Regions from separate parts of the Homo sapiens genome. Here regions 1, 3, 4, 5 and 6 are each linked to region 2. Evidence: promoter capture Hi-C in 16 types of primary human blood cells and fetal thymus (Javierre and others, 2016). All regions are on one chromosome and are shown on one strand. Each heading gives the region's core, a stretch centred on a gene start or on the middle of the fragment in contact. The rest is flanking DNA. Distances are from core to core; before and after follow the strand shown. Region 1 overlaps EPB41L4A (erythrocyte membrane protein band 4.1 like 4A). Region 2 holds the start of FEM1C (fem-1 homolog C). Region 3 overlaps DMXL1-DT (DMXL1 divergent transcript). Region 4 overlaps SLC25A46 (solute carrier family 25 member 46). Region 5 has its middle 81 kb from the start of TNFAIP8. Region 6 has its middle 1.9 kb from the start of DTWD2.

Region 1 (3,596 bases), core at 243-2,742, 3.4 Mb after region 2:
ATAGTACTTATTTCAGGTCCTCTCCTAGCACTTTTTTTCTGGTAATTCTTCTGCTGTATTCTCCTCTCACATTCACTGGTGTTCTCTTCCCACCTCTGGCTATCTAGAAATCTTCCATCCCAAATAGATGGGTTCATGCTTCCCATGATAGGCAGAATAATTATTCCATCAGTGCTTTTTGAATGTCAGTAAAACAAATTAAGCCAGTCATAGGAACAGATTAAAGGTAGCTGCATTTTAAGAGGGATTTATTTATTTTTAGCTCAAACAAATCTCAAAATAGATTGGGACGGTATAGCCCATTATTTATGGGAATATACATTTGGGGAAGGAAATATGCTTGCCAGCCTGATACACTGACAATGTTAGACCATCCTTGGAAGTAAGAGGAGGAGGGGTTCGCATAAGAAGTAGTAGTTGTGAGTTAGTGTCATTCTCAGAGCCTCCACCAGTGATGATGGGAGATGTGTAAAACCTAAGTTTTACAAACTAGTGGATGTGGTGCCCAGGCTCTGGTAATGAGCTGCCCTGTTTCTCCGTATGAGACAAGTGATAGGGGCTCACAAGACATTGTTCCATTCATTGACTACTGAAAATATAATCAGGGGATTATAAATTGCCTCCAAGTCTCCATCACTATCCTGTTTGGAAGAGTGAGGTTGAGAGCCTGGTTTGGGAATTGTTAACAAAAGTAATGACACTGATTTGGGTGAATTATGCCTAATATTCATGAATAAAATCGTTATGCATGTAAATGTCAGACTAACTTTGTATATTAAAGTTTAAATACAAACTTTATTTTGCACAGCTATTTAGAGGGAACATTTATTGAATAGCTTTTGGTATTATGAAACTTTTGAATTAACTCAGTATCTTAAATTTAAGAGCAGCTTGGTTTCTGATGTAATTAAAATACTTCATTTGGCTGTTTTCTTCTGAATCTTTCTACATTTTTCAAATATATTTTAGAGAAGAAATGGGTCTAAAGATAGCCTGATGGAAGAAAAACCTCAGACATCTACAAACAACCTGGCTGGAAAACACACAGCAAAAACAATAAAAACTATACAAGCTTCCCGCCTCAAGACAGAGACTTGATCCTGATGAAGGGTCAAGGGTAGGGGTGGGAAGGTTGTGTGCGCCACTGGTACTTTTGAAACTGTGAAATAGGTATCTTAATTCAAATCTCAGACCTGCAAGTATTTCTTCAGCATGAGAAAATACATTATCTTTTGCTTCTTTTTTTTTTTTTTTTTGAGATGTTATCACTCTGTCGCCCAGGCTGGAGTGCAGCGGCACCGTGTCAGCTCACCGCAGCCTCCACTTACTGGGTTAAGCGATTCTCCTGTCTCAGGCTCCCGAGCAGCTGGGATTACAGGCGTGCACCACAACACCCGGCTAATTCTTTTTGTATTTTTAGTAGAGACAGGGCTTTGCCATGTTGGAGGCTGGTCTCGAACTCCTGACCTCAAGTGATCCGCCTGCCTCAGCCTCCCAAAGTGCTGGGATTATAGGCCATGGTTTAACTACAGCACAGTTGTGCTGAAGGACCTTTTTGTTTTAACTGGAAGAATAAGTATTTTGTAAAAATTCACTTGATACCACATTTTCATTTCTGGAACAGGATAGCAATCATTCATTTCTATCTTGTGTCTGTGTCCACCACAACCAAGACCAGATGCATCTGATGAACATTCTGGAATTCTGAACTGCAGCTAGCCTGCTGTGCAATAGTACAAGTGGGAGGACGTCTTCCCAGGGCTGGGCTGGTTCTCAACTAGTGCCCAGATGCAAAAGGACTGAGGCATCACTTTCAGACTGCATATATTTTTATTCATATAAAGTTCTTTATAATACTTTATTTTGTGGTGTTAAGTTCCACCAGTTATTTACAAATGATGTAAAAAGCTTTAAGTGTTGTTAATTTCTAAAGTGTTCTTGCGTTTTCAGAAGTGTAAGTGGATCTCAGTTGATCTGTCACCCCAAACCTCAAATGATCCATCCACCCTGCTTGGCCATCTAATTCACCTGCTCTCCCCAGTGACTATTTTGTACCTTTCCTCTCCATAGATGACTTTGCAATCTACAGGGAAAATACTTATGCAGGACATCTTATATCTCCCCCTTACCACGTACAGTTCTCTCCACAGCTGCCAGCAGCCCTAACCTTTTTGTCTCTCCACCTGTGCTTTGGATGCTCTTCTCCCAGCCTTTTCAGGATCTTTGTCTGTCCTCCTATATTAATGTATTCAATTATTCTCTCAGCTAGATCCTTGCTACTTGGTTTTAAATTTAAGACTAAGATTAAACAAAACTATCTTTCACAACCACAAACCCCCTCCCGCCAAGCAACTAAGATTTTCCTCTCATTCTCAGCCAGTTTTCTTGCAAGCAGTATCTTTAGTCATTGCCCTCAATTCATCTAATCCCTATCTTAAGCTATCTCTAACATGGATCTTTCCCTCTACTCCACTAATATCAATCACTGTGTTACTTAATCCCAGGGAGAATTTTTAGGACATTCTTTTGCTTCTTTAATATAATCCTATTTTGCTCCTACCACTGACCATCCTTTCTGGCTTATCATGCTTTACCTTGCCATTAATTAGTGGAGTTTCTCAAACTTCAGACCCTAGGCCCTCTTCCTCTACCACCAGCAGATCTCATTTATACCCATGGCCTTAAGGTTTATTTCTGTAGTTTAGACTACTGAGTAATGTGCTACTGCAAAAAGACCATTTGGGTTTCTCAAAGGTAATTTAAAAATTCAGCTGTTTAAATGCTGCTCCCCAGCTGAATCTAGGGTCATTATGCTCATCAGTGTGCAAGCTGGACACCTAGCAGTTATGGACACCTCCACTATTACCACGTCTAGTTGGCTCTGTCATCCAACTATAAACGATCTTATTTCACTAATTTTACTAGTCCAAGCTGGTCTCTTGTCTAGACAACAATAAGCAACCTAGTTCAACTACCTTTTCTTGCAAATCTGATTTTCCACCATGGATTTATCTTGCTTTAATAAAGCCAGAGGGAGCCTGAAGTGGTCTGGCTTCTTTACCTACCTCTTCAGCCTCATTTTGTAACACTCTCACCTCCCATAATAGCCATCTTACAAGCCTCAGTAAGGACTCAGTTCTAAAACAGGGCACTGAAGAGGGAAAGCAGCCAAAACTGTCTCAAAAGTAAGTGGACTAACGGTATCTTTTTTCTAGCCCAAGCCTCTGTATATGTCATTCCCCCAGTTTTGCCTTGTGAAAAATATGACACATACCTTTAGTCTCAACTCTTTCTCAGGTTTCCCTAAGAAAATCCTATCACGGAACTCATCTCATAGTGAAGTTTTACATTTGTGATGACATTCCCTCCACTTATCTATGTTTCCAAAGGGAAGAACTGTGTTGTGCTCATCATCGTGTTCTCAGCTCCTAGTACAGTGCTTTCAATAAATTTTTTGAATACCTCTATACATTATTTGTCGTTTCCTGCAAAGCAAAGGCAGAAGATATGGCAACATTAAATGTACAATTTAGTTGGAGGAAAAATACGCATTGAGTGCAGTAAAGCACACCTGTCACTAGAAATCAGTCTAGTTC
Region 2 (3,399 bases), core at 437-2,936:
TGTACACTGTTATCTGTACCCTGGGAGAGTATAGAACTGTGACATATGCTGGGGATAAAACAGCCAGTCCTCTTGGCTGGTTAATTTTTATGGATGGTCAATCTTATCCTTTATACTCTATTCTTTTATATTTTCTTCTCAGTGGCAATTACCTTAACTTCAGTTTTGGGAATCTGATGTTGAGTGTAGTCTGATACTGACTACCTAAGGGAAATACTATGCTATACTTAAAAATTATTAAGACTGTAAAAACATAAGAAACGTTTAGAGTATAGAAAGGAAAAGCAAAATATATAGTTGTATGAAAATTATTTCAATTATGCAAAACTACATAAACTTCTGAACAACACTACAATATACAAAAATGAAGTTGTGATTTTTTATAAATGTTTTTAGTGCTGCATGACTTCTAACATAACGTTATGGATTACATATGCTGAGGGTCAGACTGCCTACTGTAATATTCTATTTCTCCTAGTGGTACTAAGGAATTATGTGAGCTTAAGTTCCCTCAAACAAAGTGATTGAAGGTCCATTTTCAAAAATTCTGTTTTCTCATCAGGATTCATTATGGGCGTTATTTCCCAAACACATTTAAACTTTTTCATCCTAGTTTAATGCAACGTAGGTTTTAGCATCAAATTCCAGAGGTTTATCAACTACTATATGAAGAAGTAATTCTTTTCATTCATATATATAACCTTTTAAGCTTTAGTTCCCGATTTATTACTCAGAGCTCAAGAACCTGACCTCATTGACTTTACATTGCTCTTAGGGTTTACCATTCCTCGTAGCCTTTATGCTTTTTAGAGGCTACTTTAGAAAGAGAGTCAGTTTGACAGCCTCCAAAACTAATCACATTTTCTGAAATTTCAGTTTCCTCCGTGTGTGTTCTGAGGTGTAATTACGAGCTTGGTAATTTCCAGGGCCCACCAAAGTAAGGACGGAAGACTAGTCCGAGAGACTTCACGTGTGTGAGGGTAATACTGGTCCGCACCCAAATTTGAATTTTAGCTCCCATGATTCCCACATATTGTGGGAGGGACCTAGTGGGAGATAATTGAATCAAGAAGGCTGTTTCCCCCATGCTGCTCTGGTGGTAGTGAGTACGTCTCAGGAGAGCTGATTGTTTTATATGGGGTTTCCCTTTTTCCTTGGCTCTGATTTTCCTCTCTTGCCTGCTGCCATGTAAGACGTGCCTTTCCCCTTCTGGCTTGATTGTGAGGCCTCCCCAGCCACGTGGAACTCTGAGTGCATTAAATCTTTTTATCTTTATAAATTACCCAATCTCGGGTATGTCTTTATCAGCAGCGTGAAAACGCACTAATACACTTCCCTTCTGGGGTCTCTGAGATGGGACCGAAAGATTCCCTAAGGGAGCACCCCGAAAATCCGAGAGGAGAAGAGCCAGCGAGATCTCAGAACTCGAGCTGCCTCGGGCCGCTTCGATGGGCACAGATCCGCCCCCTCGCAGCGCCCCGCCCCCCAGCGCGTTGCACGCAGGCACGTCCTCCCAGTAGTTCAGGCCCCGCCCCCTCCCCGTCGCCCCACCCCGGCCGCGACGCCCCGCCCCGCGCCTAGGCTGTTGCTGGCCGCGGCCGCCGCCCTCCCCCGGCCCAATGGCGTGGCGGCACAGTCAGTGATGTGACGCTCAGGCTTGTCCGGCCCCCGGCTCGCAGCCCATTACACCATCCGTCGCAGCAGTCGCTGCAGCCGCTGCAGTCCGAGCCGACTAAGGGCGGGAGGCAGCTCGGGTGGCGGGGCGTGGCGAACAGCGCGGCCGGATTCATTCCTTTGGGGCGCGGAGCATGGAGGAGCTGTGCGGCCGCAGGCGGAGCAGGGCGGCCCGGGCGGCGGTGGGGACAACGGTTTCCCTTTGAAGGGGACGGACAAAGCCCGAGTGACCAGCGGCGGCGGGGAGGACTAGTCCCCGGGCAGGTAGTGGCGGCGGCAGCGGCCTGCCAGGGCTCGGGCCGGGGCCTGAGGTGCCCGCGGAAGGCCTGGGCGGGAAGGAGGGCGCCGGGGGAGCCGAAGGCGGGCAGCGGGCTGGAGGCCACAGCTTGGCCCATCGGGAGGGGGTTGTGGTCGATGGAGGAGATTGGGAGGGGGCTGCCGTTGTCTGGAACAGGGAGAGGGGAAGGTTGTGTTGGGGCGACTGTGGTTTGAGGAACCTGCGGATCATCCCTTGGCGGGGGGTGGGGGGTGATCGAAATGGGGCGGGCGAAGTTAATGACTAAAAGGCAGGCGGATTTCCTGAGAGCCGTGAGTAGTTTTAAAGGAAAGAGAATCTTTCGGGGCACAGTTTTGGCCTTAGCCGGGGTTTGGTGTGTCCGACCTTTTTGTTCTTTCTCGAAACCCGGCCTCAGGCCTTCCAGCCTGGCGCCCTTGGCCAGCTCTCCTGCAGTTGCAAGAAAGAGAAACATTTCTGAACCCGAGTCTCCTGCCTCTTTCGGTTGTACTCTCCCTGGGCGTGTGCAAAGCAAAACTAGAACAAAGCTTGGCTGGTTAGAGCTGGAGGCGAGAAAACGGGCTGCCTGTAGTGTTTAAATTTTCCGCACATGGAGGAGACTGCCTGCGACCAGAACATTTGGGTCTCTGTGTATCCTTCTGTATTTTTCTTTACCACCTTTTCTTTGGGGGTGGGGGGGGTGTGTGGGATGGAGTAGTGCCTGAAGTATAGCTTTTATTCCTTTCTTCCCACAGAAGTGGAAATTAAGAAGTGTTTTGCCTTCTTCTATAGAAAATTAAATGCTGCTACTTTTTTTTTCTTTCTCTAGTTTGGTGCCCTGGTTGTCAGATGTTGGAAAGCAGTAGGACGGAACATACTCTTCGTGGTTGTGTATCCGTTCTGGGGTGCAGCAATTAACATTGGACTTTGGTTCCTGTGACTCTTGCCTGTGTCGATAGAGTTAAACTGGAGCTCTGCTTTGAAAGATAAATAAAGCACAGCCTCTCAACTGGACATAAATGGATCTAAAGACAGCAGTATTTAACGCAGCTCGGGATGGCAAACTCCGGCTTCTCACCAAATTGTTGGCAAGCAAATCCAAAGAGGAGGTTTCCTCCTTGATCTCTGAAAAAACAAATGGGGCCACGCCACTCTTGATGGCCGCCAGGTATGGGCACCTTGACATGGTGGAATTCCTCCTAGAGCAATGCAGTGCCTCCATAGAAGTTGGGGGCTCCGTCAATTTTGATGGCGAAACCATTGAGGGGGCTCCCCCTTTATGGGCCGCTTCTGCAGCAGGACATCTGAAGGTGGTCCAGTCCTTGTTAAATCATGGAGCATCTGTCAACAACACGACTTTAACCAATTCAACTCCTCTTCGAGCTGCGTGTTTCGATGGCCATTTGGAAATAGTGAAGTACCTTGTAGAACACAAAGCTGATTTGGAAGTG
Region 3 (3,487 bases), core at 1-2,500, 3.5 Mb before region 2:
TCTCTGACCTTGATTGCTACCTTTAAAAGAAGCTTTAAAGCCTGTTTGGTCTCCTAAACTTGCCAAGCCCTGCTGCCTGGGTCTAGTCAGTAATCTTGCCCTGCACAGACCTCTTACTGTCTGACCACAGGCCTTAGCTAACCCCATTTGTGTCACACCCCACTGCTATGCCTCCTTTGGAAAGGCCTATCTAAGAAGTAGCTCCTTATATAAATGGAAGGACACTAAAGACTCCTGATGGAGTAAACACAGAGGAGATAAGGAATCAAGGGTGGAGGGATTGGTCTTGGACATGGTAAATGTAGAGATAGAGACTATCTAGTCAGAAAGGTTAAACTTGATAGTCTTCATTCTACAAAGTAGGATGCAAATTCTTTTCAAAGAGGAACTGTGAATTGTATAGTATGTGAATTATCTTTCAATAAAGCTATTTTTAAACAGCAGAGAATGTAAGAGATGGACTAGAATTAGGAAAGTATTGGGTTTAAAAGTCACATTCATATTACGATGGCAATTCCTGGTTATGGATCTCTTTAATGATGTTTCTATACAGAGTGAATGTAGTAGTCTGTATGTTTCTCTCTTCCTTTTTAATTGAAATATTAGATTGCTCCAAAGGTTTCCATACAACCTGTTCAACTTTCTAGCAGTCATTCCAGAAAGGGAACAAATGAAGTGTAACCATATATTTACTAATCAACAAATGCAAACATGATGGCTATATTAAATATTCAAATGCATAAATAATATTTATATTATATGTGTTAGGCTGTACATAACAGACTAGGCAACTAGCAGTGGCTTAAATAAAAAATATTTATTATTAAATATATATTATTATAATATGTTATTATTAAATATATATTTTATAAATATTTATTATTAGGTTGTAGCATGTGCCTATATTCCCAGCTATGTATGCCAGAGGAGGCTGAGGCAGGAGGATCCCTTGAGCCCAGGACAGGAGTTTGTGACCAGCCTGGGCAACATAGCAAGACCCCATCTCTGAAAAATAAAAATAAAAATAAAGACATACAATTGAGTCATACAATAAAGATAGTTCCAGAATTGTTCAGCAGCAAAGTGTAGGCTTACCCCTGATGGGCACACATTGGCTATAGAAGCACCAAATGTTTTGTTCTCACCACACAACATACAGAAAAGCAGGAAGGTGGGGAAGGAAAAAGGCATGCTTCTCACTTTCTACTTTTCTTTTATCAGGAAGAAAAATCTTTCTAGGAAGTTACCAAGCAAACTTCCTATTATACATCAATGGCCAGAAGTGGGCCACATTGCAAACCCCTAGTTTCAAGGGTGGATGGCGAAGTGAAAAATTAGGTTTTTTAGCCTTAGAAAAAGAAGTGCATGAAAGGAGGGGCTGGAAATGGCTGTTGGATAGGCAACCAAACTGTCTGCTGTATTATTCATTGGGAAAAAGGATAATAAAACCAAGAAATATTTGCTTGAGGAACGTCAGATATGAACAGATTTCATTTAAACTCACAAAGCTGAGAAGCTGAGAACAAAGATTTGAGATGTGAGTAGCACACTTGAATAGCAAGCAAAACTTCAAAAACCAAAACATGAACCTGGTTATGAAAATAAATCTGATTAAGGTAGCTCTGTGTTTTAGATTCTACTGAGTTTGGGAGGACTGCAGATTTTTTGTAGTAGTGGCTAACTCTTCCTGGAATTCTCCCAGATGCGCAGGAGGCCAAGAGCCTGGGTATCTGCATCTGAAACAAATTAGCCTGGGATGTTTCTTTTTTTTTTTTTTTTTTGAGACGGAGTCTCGCCCTGTCACCCAGGCTGGAGTGTAGTGGTGCGATCTCGGCTCGCTGCAACGTCCGCCTCCCTGGTTCAAGCAATTCTCCTGCCTCAACCTCCCGAGTAGCTGAGATTACAGGCATGTGCCACCAGGCCTGGCTAATTTTGTATTTTTAGTAGAGACAGGGTTTCTCCATGTTGGTCAGGCTGGTCTCGAACTCCCGACCTCAGGTGATCTGCCCGCCTCGGCCTCCCAAAGTGCTGGGATTACAGTCGTGAGCCACCGTAGCCAGCCTCATTCCCCGTCTTAATCTGCCTTTTGTCAGTTTAATTGAAAGGCCCTAAAACTATGCTATCGGGGATAATTTCTATAGATCATTACCTAATTTATATAGATCATTAATATGCTATCAGGGATAATTTCTATAGATCATTTCTGTAAATCATTAATATAGAAATGATCATTTCTATAGGTCATTACTAGAGATCATTACTATAGATCATTACTAATTGAAAGGCCCTAAAACTATGCTACCAGGGATAATTTCTATAGATGATTACTAATTTCTATAGATCATTACTAATTTCTATAGATCATTGCTATGCTATCAGGGATAATTTCTATAGATCATTACTAATTTCTATAGATCATTGCTATGCTATCAGGGATAATTTCTATAGATCATTACTAGAGAAGCTTCTCTGTATGTGTGGAGCAAAAGTAAAAACAAAAACAAAAAAAAGAAAGGTCCCCATTGATGTACCTAAGAGGGTAGAGGAAAAGTTTTTATCCTCCTCAACAAGCCTGTCATTTTTCACAAGTAGTACTATTGGCATTTGGTGGGACAGTTCACTGTGTGGGACTAGTCCATAACCAGTAGTATACACACATTCCACTTCCCCACTGTCCCCCATCTTACAATATGTCACCAAAATTGCTCCACACATATCCTAAGTAAGATTGCCAGATAAAATACAGGAATCCCAGTCAAATTTGAATTTCAGATTATTTCAGAATAATTTTTTTTTTGAGACAGAGTCTTGCTCTATCGCCCAGGATGGAGTGTAGGGGTGAGATCTTAGCTCACTGCAACCTCCGCCTCCCAGGTTCAAACAATTCTCCTGCCTTAGCATCCTGAGTATCTGGGACTAGAGGTGCATGCCACCACACCAAGCTAATTTTCATATTTTCAGTAGAGACAAGGTTTTGCCATGTTGGCCAGGCCAGTCTCGAAACTCCTGATCTTAGGTGATCGGCCCACCTTGGCTTCCAAAGTGCTGGGATTACAAGACATGAGCCACCATGCCCCGCCCAGAATAATTTTTTTAATAAGTTTTAAATATTGCATGGGATATACTTCTTACTAAAAATTATTTGTTGTTTGTCTGAAATTCAAATTTTTTTTTTTTTGAGACAGAGTCTCCCTCTGTCACCCAGGCTGGAGGGCACTGGAGCGATCACCGCTCACTGCAACCTCTGCCTCCCAAGTTCAAGCAATTCTCCTGCCTCAGCCTCCCGAGTAGCTGGGACTCCAGGTGTGCGCCACCACAGTGGCTAATTTTTGTATTTTTAGTAGAGACAGGGTTTCACCATGTTGGCCTCCCAAAGTGCTGGGATTATAAGTGTGAGTCACCATGCCTGGCCTCTGAAATTCGGATTTAACTGGGCCTCCTGTATTTTTAAAATGTATTTTATTTTTTAGAGCAGTTTTAGGTGTAC
Region 4 (3,482 bases), core at 955-3,454, 4.8 Mb after region 2:
CAAATGATTCTACCCATAACGAAATTCAATATGAAAAGAATGAAAACCAGATCTGCATACTAGTAAATAAGGGAAACAATACATAATACATAATATTAATGTCTATAGTATAAGATGAAACTAGATCTCTGAATGTTTAATGTGGGAAATGGCACATCAATTAAATGGCATTTAATGCTGCAAATTATTTCTTTCAGAAAATGTCCTAATAACAGAATTCCTATCAGCAGAGTCATTTGATCTTCATGAACCCCATTCTAAAAATGTTTGGTTTTGGTGCACTTAAATTATAAGGTTTAAGTATAAATTTAAGTATAAATCTTAAATTATAAGATTCTTAATGACCATGTTAATTGACTAATATTTATGTATCAAATATTTATTTTGAGAATGTGCCCCACAAAACAATTACAGCTGTGGGTTTCAGGTCTCAGAGTGACATATACATACATGTGCACACATATTTATATGTAATAATAGTCTATCAAATGAATCAAAGCTTTAAGTATAAATATTGAAGCAAAAAACAACTCCAGCAGAATGGAAAACACAGATTTTATTTATATTGACATTAACACCCTCGGGTTTAATTATGCAAATAAGGTGTTTTTCTTCGTTAAAATGTTTAAAATAATGATCATTATGGCATGAAATGTAAGCTTTGTGCAATTCCAATATTTTTGAAAATGGTATTCACTAAGGATCACAATAATCAAGACTAAAGGATTTTCTTAAAATGATCGTTAGATATAAAAAAAAGTAATGCTATCACCAAACGCTGATTATGAACAAAATCTAGATGCTATGTTGCTAAATATCTTGTAAGCATTAGAGTGTTTAGAAAGAAGCCTCCATGCACAATTACTTTTTTGATGGGAGACAGACAGATTACATTTCATTTTATTCTTTGGATAGACCCATGAAAAGAATGAAAACCAGATCTGCAAACAGGTAAGTAAGGGAAACAATATATAATACACAATATTAATATCTACGGTATAAAATGAAACTAGATCACTGTATGTTTGATGTGGGAAATGACACGTCAGTTACATGGCATCATTAAATGCCATGTAATTTTTCTTTCAGAAAATGTCCTATGAAAAAAGTTCTTATCAGCAGAGCCATTTGATCTTCATGAACCCCATTCTAAATTATTATTTTGATGGGAGAGAGATAAGATTACACTTCATTTTATTTTTTGGATAGACCCATGAAAACAGTTACAATACTCATTACAAAATTACTTTGTGTTTATAAAATTGGATGACTAGTCTATCCTTACTGGAAAAACTATCAAATTATATATTTTAAATAATGGTCATTTTTTTTCTGCAAAATATTATTCAAAATTTAAGCTGCTGCTTCAAAGAAACAACCTAAAGGAAGCAATAATAATCATTTAATATTGTAAATTAAAGAAAAACTCTAAATTCAATAAATAAAAGCTGTAAACGTCTTTAGATAAAACATTACCTTGCAAGTCCAATACCAAATCCAGCAAATCTATTCAGCTGTTCTAAAGTAAAAAAAAATAGAAATAAAAAAATAAGATTACTGATAACCAATTACTGACAATTTAGGTTTAGTCTCAAAACAATTTTAAAAAATTTATTTTATTAACCTGCTGTTCATTTAAACCTCAAAGTCAAATTCTGATAGGGGCCAGGTAAATAATTTAAATGAATGAAGGACTCTGCTGGGGTCTGTGGCAAATTGCAAGGTGTAGAGTGTTTAAAGCACAATTACGCTTTCACTCCAATTCATTGTTGCCACATTAGAGTGTGGGCCCAGGGTTTTGAAGTTGTAATTTTTTCAAAAAAAGATATTCTCATTTTATATAAAAGCTTCCAATTTTAAAGTCCTGGACAACTATTTCAAAAACTGTTAACACATTGTCTTGGCCTAATGAAACAAATATCCGGACAGAACCTAAGGGCTACCAGTTTTCAGCTTCTGATTCCAATCAAATAAAAAATTTTCCATGGTTGGCCGCAGCTGATATTCCACCTGCGACTTTACCTCTTATGCTGTAAAACTAGTTATTCACTGTTACTGACGGAGAGCACTTTATTAAACCAATAACTACAAGTAAAGCACCTCTAAATTATTAACTTGAAAGGGTACTTAGGGATAACCAAAATGGGTAAATACAGCTCTCCCCCATCTCTTCAAGTTTTAAATAGTTTGAGGCTAGCTGTTTAATTAATTGGAGTAGGTTACTGGATACCTAAATGCTACTACAGATGGTATGTCTGTTATGTTACTGGAAAAGTTCACAGCTGGGAACATTCCTATGCATATGTCAAAAGAGAAAAGCCTTTCTTCTTGACTAAACTCAAAGTCATAGTGGTGAACTATTACAACCCCAGGGGACCAGACATCAAATTCTAACTATAATACAATATTCACAAGTTACAATTCTTTCTCTCCTCTTCTCTTTCAAGTGAAGCAACTGCCCTCACTATTCCCTTTCAATCAGAACAAGGCCACCTAAGCATGTTCCTGGGAAATTACGCAGTTTACCCTAGAAAAATGTATAAGCTAAATAGAAAGCTTCTTTTACCCACCTACGGTACTTTTACCTTAGATTTTACCTTTTTTTGTTTGTTTTGAGACGGAGTCTCGCTCTGTCGCCCAGGCTGGAGTGCAGTGACGCGATCTCGGCTCACTGCAAGCTCCGCCTCCCGGGTTCACGCCATTCTCCTGCCTCAGCCTCCCGAGTAGCTGGGACTACAGGCATCCGCCACCACGCCCGGCTAATTTTTTCTATTTTTTAGTGGAGACGGGGTTTCATCGTGTTAGCCAGGATGGTCTCGATCTCCTGACCTCGTGATCCGCCCGCCTTGGCCTCCCAAAGTGCTAGGATTACAGGCGTGAGCCACCACGCCCGGCCTTACCCATTTTGTATGTATAGATCATCCCCAAATAGCAACAGAAAATGCTACTAGCATTTTCTGGAAGGTGTTAGGAAGGTTTAATCTTGTTTACTGTGTAAGTCTCTTAGGTGTCTATCTTTGTTGCAAAATTAACATTCACCCACCTGTTAAGGCTGCAAAATAAACCCCTGCTTGTGTCAAGGAACTCCTCCTCATTGTAACCACCAAAGCATAACTTTAAACCGGGAAGAGTCAAAAAGCTAATTGTATGACAATTAGCTAGGTAAGTCATCTATCTTTCTTCACATCCTCATTTACTCACTAGACATTCGTTAGTCTGTTCTTCTTAGTTAAATATTATTGTACTTCCAAGTCAAAGTCGAGGAAATAAGAATAAAGCTGATTTCTACAATAAATTTAATATTAATACCATTAATCTATTATTCTAACAATTCCAGAAGAATAGAAAGAGGTAGCCATTATTCACATTTTATGAATAAAAAAGGATGTTGAAAATATCTACATCATGCAGTGTTGCAGCTTTTCTGACATCCCATGGAGAATAATTATGTCATGATTCCGAAGTCCTATCTTGAAATTGTA
Region 5 (3,655 bases), core at 1,156-3,655, 3.7 Mb before region 2:
TTGTGAGAATACAGCAGAAATGTGGCCATCTGAAAGGCAAGGAGGGAGGCCTCAGGGAAATCAAACCTGTTGACGTCTTGATCTTGAACTTCCAGTCTCCAGAACTGTGAGAATATAAATTTCTGTTGTTTAAGCCACCAGTCTGTGGTATTTTGTTATGGCAGCCCTTAAAAACTAATACACTTATATAGAACACTATCATCACTAAAGGCAACCATAAAAAAAACAGAACTTACAGGCCAGGTGCGGTGGCTCAAGCCTGTAATCCCAACACTTTGGGAGGCCAAGGCAGGTGGATCACTTGAGGTCAGGAGTTCGAGACCAGCCTGGCCAACATGGTGAAACCCTGTCTCTACTAAAAATACAAAAATTAGCCAGATGTGGTGGTGTTTGCCTGTAATCCCAGCTACTCGGGAGGCTGAGGTAGGAGCTTCGCTTGAACCCGGGAGTTAGAGGTTGCAGTGAGCCAAGTTTGCACCACTGCACTTCAGCCTGGGAGACAGAGCAAGACTCCAACTCAAAAAAAAGAAAAAAAAAAAAACAGAACTTAACGAAAGACTGATTAAAGCGTAAAATTCAGTGTGGATATGCTTGTTGGGCTTGGGTGGTTAATCCTCTGCCCCTGCCACCTGTCTCCGCAAGTCACTGCCCAACCTCCTCTATCTGCCTCATTTCCCTAATGGTAAGGCTGAAAGGCCCTGGTGTGCTCAACTCCAGGGCAGCAAACCTGGGGGATGGCTGACTACAGAGGAAGGCAGAGGCCAGACCTGAATTAGTCAGTTTCATAACCTGTTATTCTCTGTTCAAATATTTAAATCTAGAGGGGAAAAAAAAAGCTGTCAATCTACTAAAATTAATACTATGTTATGATCAGTAGCAAACCTTTATTATTCTAATTTCCATGGCCCCTATTAGAATGATAAATTAAAAACTGACTAAAATTCAGAAAAAGGGAAGTCTCAAGTACTGGCAAAACCCAAAATGCAAAAGAAGCAGGAGGAAGTTACAGAACATGGCTTCAAAGAAAAAAATGGTCTGTTTTTCATTTTCTCATTTTCTACCATTACAAAATGAGAGGGACACTCTGAGAACAGAATAGATTCCTGGAGGTACCAGGACCTCAGGACAGGAAACAGGCCTGGGTTAGGGGAAACGGTCCGCTTGGCAACTCCGAGTCCTGAGTTGGGCCCGTGCTCTTCCAAACATGCGCCGCTGTTGAAATAAGGATGCCCATCCCAGTTCAGTATCTACAAACCACCTGAGTTATCCTTAAGTCAGCTGGCATACTGGATTTATGATGTCAGCATTGTTGGTGACTCAAGTCTAGATTTTCAACTAATGAACACTGGGCAGACTCTCCAATGTCTCTGTTTCATGGCCTTCAATTTCTGGATCTATTTGTGGGACACCACTAATTGTTTTGGTTGTTATTTTTTGTTCTTGACCTGGTTGCTTGTTAATATTTTTCCACCCAGTGAAGACCTATAAAAACAACTTTGTTATTTCTTAAGATGGGTACATAGGTGTTCATTTTATATGTTGTGTTTATTTTATATGTTGTGTTCATTTTAATCTTCTTTAAACTTTAAAGCCACTCTGTACTTTCAAGAGCTCTTTCCACTGCCAAAAAAAAAAAAAAAATTAAAAAAAAATCCCTACAGCTAGCTGCTGCCTGAATAAGCTTCTTTCTAGAACAAGACAGGAAAATGAGTCACATAAGTCTCCCAGGCTAGGGGTTCTCAATTTGCATCAAGCTTCACTGGTGATTCTGACTTAACAGTCAGGTTCACAGGAATAGTCCCAGATGAGCCCTAAAATACAGCACATTGGATAAGTTCAAAGTTTCATTTGGTGTATCACTTTTGTAGCTGCCCAGATAATGATGTTCTCAAACTACCCTACCTGGGCAGAGCTTCCCTGCCAGGGAGGTGATAAGCACCACAGGTACACAGGGCAGGGAATCCTTGCTTCCTCAGGAGGCTCCCTATTTACACAGGGTCTCTTACCTTGAAAAGTAATAGCAGCCTGTTCCTTCAGGCACTATCAGTCATTCCAGGTCATAAAAGCAAAGGAGCAAAGTGGCTACGTGTGTGCAAACAGAGGTCATCACCGGATGTTGGGAAGGCCTGAGTTCACTCACCTCTTCCAGGTATACCTCATGAGTCACTAGCAGCCTAATTCTGCCTCAAGGCAAAAGGAATTCCATCACTAAGTGAGGACTGCTCTGCCCTTCAAGTGTAGCAAAACAGTATTTAACCAAACACCTGCCATTTTCCAGAAAACAATCTCAACCCTTTAAAGAGTGAAGAAGGAAAAATAAAAGAGTAGTTTCCTGACCACAGAATGATGGAATGAGGTACTGGACTTACTTCCCAAAGATTTACGTGACCAAAGTTTGTTCTGAAACTTGCACTGTTGCCAACACTGTCCATGCATTTTTTTCTCAGAAGACTGGCATTTTTTTTCGTGTCTGCATGTGTGTGAGGGTCTGAACACAGTCAGAAGAGAGCTCAGGACAGGAAAGACGAGTGTAGTTAGGTCTACATAGCACACACCACAATCTCTGTCTCCCCTATTTTTGTTGACAGCCATGTTGTAAAACCAAACAAACAAACAAACAAAAAACCTCATTTTGTTAAACAAATGATAAATAAGAGTAATAAATAAGAGTTAGGAATGAGGAAGGCTTGAGCTAAATGAATTTGGGTTGAAGGAGTAAGAGCCAGGCTTAGAGAGGGTATTGACAGAGTGAGCTGTTGCTTACTTTTTGGCTCCTTTAAAATATCCAAGAGTCTACTGTGTGCCTTGCTGAGTACTGTGTTCCCAAAAGACCTTGCCCCGGTGCCTAATCCTGCAGATGCGGTCCCTGCCCTGGGCCTCCCGGACCTCACGCAACTTCCCCTGAAGACATGCCAGCCCGATTCCCTTTGCAACACCAAGGGCAGCTGTCTGTCTTAAATAATCTGGTTTCATTCACTACCTGTTTTAAACATGGGAGTTGTGAAAGGCCAACCCACTGCTCACAATTTAACTGTAATAGGTCTTTTGAAAGCTTCCCTCATGCAGAGAAGCTTAATGGGTACTATGGCTCGTCTTCGTTCTCAGGCACATAAAACTCGAATGCCCTGCTCTGGCTCACTTATCTTTGGCAGCAGCGGTGACATTTCCCTTATATAATCATGTGACCCTGCAGCTAGCAATCACTGAAGTTGTGCTACATTCACCCCATTCTCTGGGCTCCTCTGGCATTGTTAAAGGAAAAAAGAATTCATGCTAAAATCACATATGACACAAGTTACTACTTTCCCTCTCTACTCCACTGTGGCTCAGTACTAACACTTACTGGAATGAGACCTATTTGGCCAATCTAACTAAGTCCTCCACTTAATGGGTGCCTTCTGCACACTGATACAGGAGAGGAACATCTGGCTTAATCTGCACAACAATCCTATAATATAAATACTATCCCCAGTTTTTACTCTGGTGAAGAAACAGGCTCAGAGAGCTAAGTAGATTGTCCAAAGCCACACAGCCAGCAGGGGCTGAGACATGAGCTGCTGATTCCAGCAAAGTCATTTGGACCAACTACTTCTTGACTAAAGTCATCTTTATTCCCAATGTTTAAGGAAACTACAAGTGGAATTTTGAACTTAAT
Region 6 (3,370 bases), core at 871-3,370, 3.4 Mb before region 2:
GGACACAGGAAGGGGAACATCACACACCAGGGCCTGTTGTGGGGTGAGGGGAGCGGGGAGGGATAGCATTAGGAGATAGACCTAATGTAAATGACGAGTTGATGGGTGCAGCACACCAACATGGCACATGTATACATATGTAACAAACCTGCATGTCGTGCACATGTACCCTAGAACTTAAAGTATAATAATAATTAAAAAAAAAAAAAGTATCCTTGATGAAGTAGCCTAAGCTGCTGCTCTGCCTGTGGAGTAGCCATTTGTTATTCTTTTGCTTGCCTAATAAACTTGGTTTTCACTTAAAAGAAAAATAAGTGGCCAGGCGCGGTGGCTCAGTCCTGTAATCCCAGCACTTTGGGAGGCCGAGGCGGGTGGATCACCTGAGGTCCGGAGTTCAAGACCAGCCTGATCAACACAGTAAAACCCTGTCTCTACTAAAAATACAGAACTGGGCCGGGCGCGGTGGCTCACGCCTGTAATCCCAGCACTTTGGGAGGCCGAGGCGGGTGGATCATGAGGTCAGGAGATCGAGACCATCCTGGCTAACAAGGTGAAACCCCGTCTCTACTAAAAATACAAAAAATTAGCCGGGCGCGGTGGCGGGCGCCTGTAGTCCCAGCTACTCGGGAGGCTGAGGCAGGAGAATGGCGTGAACCCGGGAAGCGGAGCTTGCAGTGAGCCGAGATTGCGCCACTGCAGTCCGCAGTCCGACCTGGGCAACAGAGCGAGACTCCGTCTCAAAAAAAAAAAAAAAAAAAAAAAAAAAAGAACTGGCCTGACATGGTGGCACGCAGCCTGTAGTCCCAGCTACTCGGGAGGCTGAGGCAGAATTGCTTGAACCCGGGAGGCGGAGGTCGCAGTGAGCCCAGATCACGCCACTACTCTCCAGCCTGGGCGGCAGAGCGAGACTCCATCTCAAAAAAAAAAAAAAAAACAAAGGAAAAAGCCACTAAATTTGTGGTTATTAGTTCCACAGTGATAGAAAATGAATATAGCAAAAAATACCATGTTTTTATTTCATTTAAATCAAATCTTATACAATGCTGAATCCTCATACTGCAGGCCTGGCAGGATATTCAATCCCTTACATTACTGAGGCCCTTTCCTCTACCAGTAACAGGATCTCCTTTTCCCACAACACCAGGCGTGGACCTAAGATTGTCCTCAGTCTTTACTACCCAAACTCCTCTGAGGCAAAGGAGCATAAAAGTCTGGTTTTCTACCTGAAGTTGGGAGATAAACAAAACATACATTAACACCTCAATACATTATCTTGACACTAGTAAGTTGTCTGTATCCCATAAAGGATATTTTACTTCCCTTTCTGGTGTCTTGGCACTTCCCAGAAGCTGAGTCACTGATGGTCTGATACCTGGGTCTGCCCCAAGGTGGTAACCTCACCTGCATGTTTCCTCAGGCGTCTGAAGGTCATTGTTCACAAACCTGGATATTGGGTGAATTTCTTGCTTCCTATAGAGGAAAATGGCTCTCCTTTCTCAACTCTGTGTCTTGCCTGGATGGAAGCTTTCTTTGATTTTGGTCAGCCTCTGAGACAATGGACTTGTAGGGGATTTTCTTCATAAGGAGCGGAGATGGAGCAGGAGACCACTTAGGTCTTTGGCAATATTCTATGCAAGAGATGACGGGGGCTTGAACCAGGGCAGAAGTAGTAGGTGAGATAAATGTTTGGATTTTGAATACTTTGAAGGGTAAAGCCAATAATCTGATATGGGGTGTTAAAAGGAAGCCCCAAGTAAGTAGGCTCACATCAACCTAAAAGGAAGGAGCAGAGGCAAAATTAATATAGAGAGTTTATTTGGGCCAACGTTGAGGACTGTAGCCTAGGTCGTACTTCCAGGTTGCTGTGGAGAGTGCTCTGGAGAACAAAATGGGCTGGAGTTTTTAAAGAAAAGAGAACGAATCAGCAGAGGGGGGCATTACAAAAGCTATGTCTCAGGAAGTGTCATTTATTTACAGAAATAACATTGGTTAGTGATTGGCTATACATATTGTTGAACTATAGGGTATACGGCGTTTTATGGCTACTCGGTGTCAGTCTAGGGCCTGCATAGCAAGTGCCTTCAAGAGGTAATTATTTAGCTCAAGGGAGAGTGAGACATGACTGCTCGCATTCCTTAGATAAAAAGTTTTTTTTTTTTTCCTTATCATCTGTCTTCTCACACCACACAATTGGGAGTCTCAAGGGACCTTAGAGGACTTGAGCACATTTCACCTCTTGAAATTAAAGATGAGCAGCTTCCTTTCGTTTAAAGATAAGTCACATGAGAATTTAATTTTGGCAGTTAAAGAATTGGTTCCCCAACCTAAATCTACAGACAAGATGAATTTTCTGATTCATCTCCTTTCCTACAGTTTCTGGATTTTGTTTATCCTCCGATTCCAAATGGCATAATTGCTAGTTCTTTCTCCCACTCTACGTCCATCACCAGGTGGGTGTTTCAGCCTTTTTCTATCCCTCACATAGGACGCTCCAAAGGAAAAGAGAGGTGCTGTTTCCGGGGGGAAAGAACGTAGGATAGTTGAAAACAGCACGGTATTTTATTCACAAACTTGATTTTAAGATGACTGAAAAATCTAATGTGAAATAAACATTTTAAGAAATACAGTATTTGCTCTATTACTGTGTTGTCTACTTTGCCTCACATTTAATCTATTACAACTATAGAGTTAAGACAACTGTGATTCCTAAGCTTAATTCACATGATTGATCAAAACCAAGCTTAATTCTGTTTTAATGTTGTGTATTGCTGGAAGTAACACAAAGCATTAATAAACAAAAGGAATTCGATACCCATTTTGGGTAAATAGTATTTCTGCCTTCATTCTAACATAGATTTCATTTTGGCTTTTAAAAAACAGCTGCTGTGCTATATACCGCCGTATCCAGTAGTTGTTAAATACCTGGGCAACGTTACCTTTCTAGGGCTTGTTTCCTCATACATAAAACCTATTGGTACCCCGGGCCAGCTCTCCTATTGCTTCCTGATCGGGGACGATCTAAAAATCTAATTTAACAAATATCTGGTGTCCAGTGTAAAATAGCATGCTTGATGTCTTATTAGCACAAGACATAGAAGAGCAGGAAATTCACATAAGGAAACGGACCAGCTGTGAGTAGTTCCCAGTGGATATAACCTCTCCTTTGTTGGCCTTTAAATAATAAGTGCATCAGCTGCCGCACCTGCGATGCATGCACGCGTGGAAATCCTGCAAATTCTTAAACTGCCATCCCAAGGCGGAAAATGCAGAATTCCATTTTATTTTAACTTTTAAAGGAGTTAAATTCGGGCTTGGTACTGGGGTCCTCTCGGGGAGGTTTCCCTTACCTCTCCCAATGACGCTACTTAAC

What was found. The method cuts DNA at HindIII sites, captures the fragments that hold promoters and counts their contacts. A CHiCAGO score of 5 or more calls a contact.
Region 1: a fragment that was not itself captured here is called in contact with the fragment with the promoter of FEM1C in region 2 in 3 of 17 cell types (non-activated CD4 T cells, total CD4 T cells and naive CD4 T cells); the score reaches 7.7 in non-activated CD4 T cells.
Region 3: a fragment that was not itself captured here is called in contact with the fragment with the promoter of FEM1C in region 2 in 1 of 17 cell types (M0 macrophages); the score reaches 7.5 in M0 macrophages.
Region 4: a contact is called between a fragment that was not itself captured here and the fragment with the promoter of FEM1C in region 2, in 4 of 17 cell types (activated CD4 T cells, total CD4 T cells, fetal thymus and 1 more). The highest score is 9.7, in activated CD4 T cells.
Region 5: a contact is called between a fragment that was not itself captured here and the fragment with the promoter of FEM1C in region 2, in 2 of 17 cell types (fetal thymus and monocytes). The highest score is 12.5, in fetal thymus.
Region 6: a fragment that was not itself captured here is called in contact with the fragment with the promoter of FEM1C in region 2 in 6 of 17 cell types (non-activated CD4 T cells, naive CD4 T cells, fetal thymus and 3 more); the score reaches 9.7 in non-activated CD4 T cells.

What each region holds. Positions count from the first base shown.
Region 1 is chr5:112,162,492-112,166,087 of GRCh38, reverse strand. EPB41L4A (erythrocyte membrane protein band 4.1 like 4A) reads left to right here. Exons shown (of 23, transcript NM_022140.5): 23 at 970-3,469. The coding sequence ends at 1,098. It overlaps EPB41L4A-AS1 (EPB41L4A antisense RNA 1), which reads right to left. Exons shown (of 3, transcript NR_015370.2): 3 at 3,587-3,596. Among named protein-coding and RNA genes, the nearest start is that of SNORA13, 2.8 kb to the right of the region's middle. RefSeq lists an enhancer at 1-624. The HindIII fragment of the contact is 836 bases long and covers 1,075-1,910 here.
Region 2 is chr5:115,543,062-115,546,460 of GRCh38, reverse strand. FEM1C (fem-1 homolog C) reads left to right here and starts at 1,686. Exons shown (of 3, transcript NM_020177.3): 1 at 1,686-1,938; 2 at 2,778-3,399. The coding sequence starts at 2,968. RefSeq lists silencers at 1,396-1,735, 1,836-1,885, 1,936-2,105 and enhancers at 1,535-1,829, 1,371-2,137. The HindIII fragment of the contact is 1,787 bases long and covers 712-2,498 here.
Region 3 is chr5:119,056,680-119,060,166 of GRCh38, reverse strand. The region is part of intron 1 of DMXL1-DT (DMXL1 divergent transcript); the gene reads left to right. Among named protein-coding and RNA genes, the nearest start is that of DMXL1-DT, 12 kb to the left of the region's middle. The HindIII fragment of the contact is 2,432 bases long and covers 35-2,466 here.
Region 4 is chr5:110,740,084-110,743,565 of GRCh38, reverse strand. SLC25A46 (solute carrier family 25 member 46) reads right to left here. Exons shown (of 8, transcript NM_138773.4): 2 at 1,477-1,519. Among named protein-coding and RNA genes, the nearest start is that of SLC25A46, 2.8 kb to the right of the region's middle. RefSeq lists enhancers at 2,221-2,720, 2,721-3,222. The HindIII fragment of the contact is 709 bases long and covers 1,850-2,558 here.
Region 5 is chr5:119,273,000-119,276,654 of GRCh38, reverse strand. It overlaps a transcript of TNFAIP8 not described here. Among named protein-coding and RNA genes, the nearest start is that of TNFAIP8, 81 kb to the left of the region's middle. RefSeq lists enhancers at 1,824-1,873, 2,296-2,795, 2,870-2,919, 3,040-3,129. The HindIII fragment of the contact is 1,298 bases long and covers 1,757-3,054 here.
Region 6 is chr5:118,988,761-118,992,130 of GRCh38, reverse strand. No RefSeq gene overlaps it. Among named protein-coding and RNA genes, the nearest start is that of DTWD2, 1.9 kb to the right of the region's middle. The HindIII fragment of the contact is 1,187 bases long and covers 1,527-2,713 here.